2 separate regions of the Homo sapiens genome follow, and region 1 is linked to region 2. Evidence: promoter capture Hi-C in 16 types of primary human blood cells and fetal thymus (Javierre and others, 2016). All regions are on one chromosome and are shown on one strand. Each heading gives the region's core, a stretch centred on a gene start or on the middle of the fragment in contact. The rest is flanking DNA. Distances are from core to core; before and after follow the strand shown.

Region 1 (2,781 bases), core at 143-2,642, 860 kb after region 2:
CTGTATGCAGAGCCCTACTAAGTGCTACATGCCATGCCCCGTATAGTTTAGACCTTAACACACTACGTGAAGGAGAGATTTTTACCCTCATTTTATAGGCAATGAGTTGAGGCACATTGAAGGAAAAACCCTTTATTGAGGTCCCCTGGACCACCGTGGATCCAGACTTTAAATCTGACTTCCATCCTGCTCCGCTGCCCATGAACAACCCATTTGTCAACTTTACCCCACCACGGGGCTAGGCCAGGCTCCGCCACCATTCTTCATGTTCTGAGTAGAAACAACTGCTAGGACCTCAAAAAGAGACACCAAGAGCTTTCTCCTGGTGCAAGAAACCAAGAAGTGAGGACGGAGGAGATGATAGAGAAGGGGAAATGGTGGTGGTGGCGGGGGTGGGGAGTTCCCACTCCATAGTTTGTCCTGCCTCCCAAGTCCCTTTCCTCCCTCCCCGATCATCTGAAGCACAGCTTCTCTGCAAGCTCAGGGATTTCTCTTACCTCCATCTCCCCTGACCCAGCCCTGCCACCTGCCCGCTATGTCTGTGGTCCAGTAGTCCACTCAGATAGGCATCATTCCCTTACAAAGCTATGAAAACTCAATCCTCACCCTTGTTTTTTGTTAAATCACAAGAAACCCACATTTGCGACTTACTCATCCCCTCCTGTGAGAGCAGACCCTGAGGTGGCTCCTGGGATTCCCACCTCCTGGGACCCACGCACTGTGTAATTCCCTCCCCTGTGGGTAAGCTGGTGTTTGGAACTCACTTCTAGGGAAAAGAAAAACAGGAGCCTTGGGGTTTAACTTTGATGTTCATCTGTATGAATCATCTCATTCTGGAGTCCTGGAGCAATCATATTAGAGTCTGATTGAAAGCTATACACCCTCTCCCAACACAAACGCACATTATGCACAGTGAATTTGCAACTACTTTCAAGAGGTTCATGAGCCCTTTCCTAAAGCCCCATCTTGGAGACCCTTAATTTATGGTCTCCAAGTAAAGGCCCCATTTCCTGAATGGTTAATATTTCTTTTAAACAGAGTTTACCATCCACTAGGTGTGACTGTGGGCACTGGTAAGAGCTGGTAAGAGCTGTAACGGGGTAAGAGCTGGAATGGGGTTTGTAAACCATGAAGTTATCTACAAAGGCTTGGTGATGTTACTTGGATTAACCAGCCCTTGGGTTGACTTTTCGGTTGACTGGTAGGAGCTGGAAAGGTGTTCGAATCCAGCCCATCTGGCTCTAGACTGCCTCCCTGTTTTATAAGAAAATCATAGAGGTGTTTGCTGTTGTTTCTACTTGTTCTGCTTTGTTTTATGTATATTCTATAGAGACTGAAATGCACAGATTTTAAGCGTACATTTTGAGGAGTTTTGACAAATGTATACTCCTGTGTGATTCCCACCCAAATCAAGATATTCAACATCTCCATCTTCCCAGAAAGTCCCACAGGCTCCTCTCACTCACTCCCTTCCTGCTCCCCATCATGCTAAGGTGGCCACCATTTTGAATGCTGTTTCCATCGATTCCTTTTGCTGCTTCTTGACCATCACATAAGTGGACTCATAAATACAGTCAACCCTCTCTGTCCATGGGTTCCACATTCATGGAGTCAACCAACTGTGGATCAAAAATATTTGAAGAAGAAAACAATAAAAAATAACAATACAGCAATAAAAACTATATAAATAAAAATACATAATAATTATTTGCATAGCATTTATATTGTTTTAGGTATTATACATAATCTAGAGATGATTTAAAGCACACGGGAGGATGTGCGTAGGTTATATGCAAATACTATGCCATTTTACATAAGGGACTTGAGCATTCATGGAGTTTAGCGTCCACTGGGATCCTGGAACCAATTCCCCCAGGATGCCAAGGGATAACTGAACATACACTTTTGCATCTGGCTTCTTTCACTCAGCATAATTTCTGTAAGATTCATCCATGTGGTTGTACATATTTGGAAATTTGTCCCCTTTAATTACTGAATAGAAATTTATCGTATGAATGTACTATAGTTTGTTTATTCATTCTCCTTTGACTGACACAAGGACATCTCTAATTTGGTGGTATGATGAATAAAGCTGCTACAAATATTTTGAAGTCTTTTGTGGGCATATATAGATTCATTTCTCTCGGGTAAAGACCTAGGGATGAAACTGCTGAGCCAAAGGATAGGTGTGTGTTTACATTTGTTAGAAACTTTCAGACAGTTTTCTAAAGTGGTTGTGTCATGTTATCTTTCATTTAACCTTCAATATTAGATGTATTTTAAGCTGCCGTAAATATCTTTTGGAAGTAGGTGAGTTTTAAGTGAAGGAATGAATGAATGATGGATGGATGACCCAACAATTCAGCTATCCTCTAACCCAGTATGTGGCCAACACAGAGCCTGTGCTCACTGTCCTCATCCTGCTGGGTTTCTTGAACTCAGGGTGGCTCCATCTGCACAGCAAACCACACCACCAAGGCTGGCCCCTCCTAGCTTTTCAACCCCATTGCCACTGTAGATGCCTTGGCAGGAAATCCAGCCAGGCTCATCCTAAAGAAATCCCATTCCCTTTGCTAGAGCAGGAGCAGGAAGCCCATGCTGTTGGCTATAGAGAGGAGCAGTCAGCTCAGGCACTGCTCTCAGCTCTGTTACCAACCAGGTGTCCAAAGAAGCTGAGTATCCCTCTCTCTGGGTGCCAGCATACTCCTCGTTTGTTTTGGGCTCTCAGAGGTCAACTGTGGGCAGTGACTCATCCAGTGGATTATGAAATGGAAGAGGCTG
Region 2 (3,033 bases), core at 344-2,843:
ATTTATTTTCCCCCCAGAAAGACCTCCACTGATAGTACTGTGGAATATTGGGTTGGACGGATTTAAAGTAGAACGTGGGAGACCAGACAGAAGTCTACAGCAAAAGGCCAGGCAAAAACTTGATGAGAGCCTAGAATACAGAAGTGGCAAAAAAGAAAACTTCAAATGTCACAGTACAAATCCTATTGTTCACTATCCTGGGTCCCATCCCAGGCAACGTGCATGTAAGATTTTACCTAATACAGGGGTTCTGACAACATTATGCTTGTCAGGTTTTCTTAAGACAACAAAATGGACTTGCATTCGGGGAGCACACACTGACAAACAAATCTGTCCTTTCAGACTATATATATTCCCAGCTTCTGGACACAGAACACAGTGATCCCTCAATTAGTGGATACTTGTGATATGAAAGAACTGAGGATTTGGGAGGAATGCAGAGGAGTAACATTGGTCACTGGCAGGTAAGTGTGAAGGGACGACTCACCACGTCAAGCAAGCAGTCACCCTGCCCAATGCCTGCTCCAGAACCTTAGGAAAAAGGCAGAGGTGCGGCGTGGCTTCCATTTCTCTCCAGAATCCAGTAAACTAGACTAGCCTTTGAGTAAAATCAACTGAAAGGGACGACAGATGCAAACTACCTATGAGATGCTAAGTGGTATTTGCAGCCAAAAGAAAATGAATACACTTTCCCTGTATTCCCAGCAAACGTGGAAATCCGCAAACCACTCATGACCCCCTCCCTAGCACTAAGTGAGTACTTAACAAACACCTTTGGAAAAGAACCCCGCCCTCTTCTGGAGAAGCCGCAGCCTTTCCGCCCAGAGCCGGGTCCCCCGCCACACAGCACCCCTGGAGTGCGTCCCACCCCGAACGCCCCGGCGCGCTGACCCAGCGGGACACCTCCCTGGTGCGCGCAAGTCTCCCAAACTTCCTCCCGCCGCCCCGGCCCGGGTCCACGCAAGGAGGGTGGCATTCCCTCCCGACAGCAAGGCGGGTGGGGCGGGCCGCCGGGACTCTGCGGGGTGGCGGTAGACGTCCCAAGGTCACCACCCGAGCCCGAACCGCCTCGGAGAGCGGTCTCGTGACTCCAGCGCCCAGCAGCCTCGGCCCTCGGGGCTAGCCCTGCGGCGCGGGGTGGGGGAGCCCGTCCCGGACAGGGAGAAAGGTGGGAGCCCAGGACCCCGCGGCGCGTGGGGCTGCGTCAGAGCAGGTGTCGGGCTAGGAAGGCCACCTGCGCCCCAAGAGACCCGGGAGCGGCTTAAGTTTGTCCTCACCCGCCCGCCGCCCCCTGCCCATGCAGGGGTACCTGCTCCCCGCCTCCAAGAAGAGGGTCGGCGCTTCCCTGAGGTGGATACGCCTGAGGAAGGGGGCGGGGCGCCCCTAACGCACCCAGGGCCCGCTCAGCCCGCCGCCCCGCGGCTCGGCCCTCTCTTCAGGAACCCCGACGTGTCAGGGAAGGAGGAGGCGTTCTTACCTCCGGGAGACCCTGGCCCTCCGGCCCCCTGGGCAACCCCATGATCCGACCGGGCTGTCGTAAGGCGAGAGCGAAGCCCGCCAAGCGTCCGGAGGAAGCTGTCCCTGCCGCGGAGCTGCTACCGGGGTGGAGTACAAAGCGGAAACTCCCTCTGCCGCCGCCGCCGCCGCCGCCGCCGCCTGCCCGAAGCGCCGCAGCCGGGCAGAGCATGCGCGCTGGGGCCGGAGCGCGGCGCCACTGCGCCTGCGCCACAGCAGCCCGGGGAGAGGTGGGCTGGGCTGCAGGTCCTGGCGTTGTGCTGGATCATCGCGCCCGTACTCTGAAGTTTTCTCCGTGGCGCTCTTTGAGAGGGGTTCCTCCTGCATCTTGAGAATATTTTGCATTTCGGCTCCCTTCTCTTCTCGCTGCCATCGGATGCCCCAAATAGGTCCTGTCCCCTCGGTGAATCAGACTTCGGAAACCGCCTCGCTTCAGGGTCAGAGTCCAAGTACAGATGAGCTTGAGGATTCTGAATGCACGCCCGGCTCTAGACCTTACAGACACACGCTTGGACAGACTTCTCCATATACGACCCAGGAACGGACCCCTTGAGAAGGGATTCTTCAAGCCCGCTGCCCTCTCCAGCGTCCTGGCCAGTGGCATCGCGTTCCCAGGAAACCTCGCTTCAGATATTGCCCACCACCCCGCCCTATTCACGGTTCCTGGGTCTTCCTGGAGGAATGACATCTCAGAGAATGCGGACTCCTATGTTCATGTCATTTGAGCCGCCGCGTCCCTTATTTGATGTACCCCTTGTTGGTCCCGGAGGATGGCAACTAGACAAAAGGTCACAGGCCCCCACACCCGCTCCATAACGGCTTCTTGGCTTTTTGTTTCTTTTAAGCAATGAGGAAAGAGATGACTTTCGTGAAAACTTTTGCTGGAGAAGAGATCCTTCCCTCTGTATATGTGTGTGGGATGGGAAGTGTCAGACTCAGACCTTTAGTTCCTTGAGATCAAAAAGGTTTCGTGTTTGCTTTCGTCTCTTCTTTGCATCCCTAGCGTCTTTAAAAGAGTAGGCAGGCGCGGTGGCACATGCCTGTAATCCCAGCACTTTGGGGGTCGAGGCGGGAGTATCACTTGAACCTAGGAGTTGGAGACCAACCTGGGCAACATAGTGAGACCTCCATCTCTACAAAAAATAAGAAAATTAGCCCGGTGCCAGTGGTCCCAGCTAGCCGGTAGGCTGAGGTGGGAGAATTGCTTGAGCCAGGAAGGTTGAGGTTGCAGTGAGCTATGATAACACCACTGCACTCCTGCTTGGGTGACAGAGCAAGACCCTGTCTAAAAACTATATATATATACGTGTATATATATATATGTGTGTATATATATATACGTGTATATATGTGTGTATATATATACGTGTATATATATATGATGTTTTCTATTTTATTTTATTTTTGCACCTTTTGTACTCCTCCTGGAGTTCATCCTGACAGACAGAGGTTTGTCTGGAGCCAGAGCTCACAAATAGTTGGAACTGCCCTAAGGATGCCATTTTGTTCTTAAATATA

Evidence for each region. Contacts are between HindIII fragments. The CHiCAGO score rates a contact against its expected background, and 5 or more counts as called.
Region 1: a contact is called between a fragment that was not itself captured here and the fragment with the promoter of CCDC93 in region 2, in 1 of 17 cell types (non-activated CD4 T cells). The highest score is 5.8, in non-activated CD4 T cells.

Annotation. Positions count from the first base shown.
Region 1 is chr2:118,875,980-118,878,760 of GRCh38, forward strand. No RefSeq gene overlaps it. Among named protein-coding and RNA genes, the nearest start is that of EN1, 30 kb to the left of the region's middle. The HindIII fragment of the contact is 5,915 bases long and covers 1-2,781 here.
Region 2 is chr2:118,012,477-118,015,509 of GRCh38, forward strand. CCDC93 (CCC complex scaffolding subunit CCDC93) reads right to left here and starts at 1,594. Exons shown (of 24, transcript NM_019044.5): 1 at 1,478-1,594. The coding sequence starts at 1,519. RefSeq lists silencers at 1,082-1,131, 1,602-1,801. The HindIII fragment of the contact is 9,438 bases long and covers 1-3,033 here.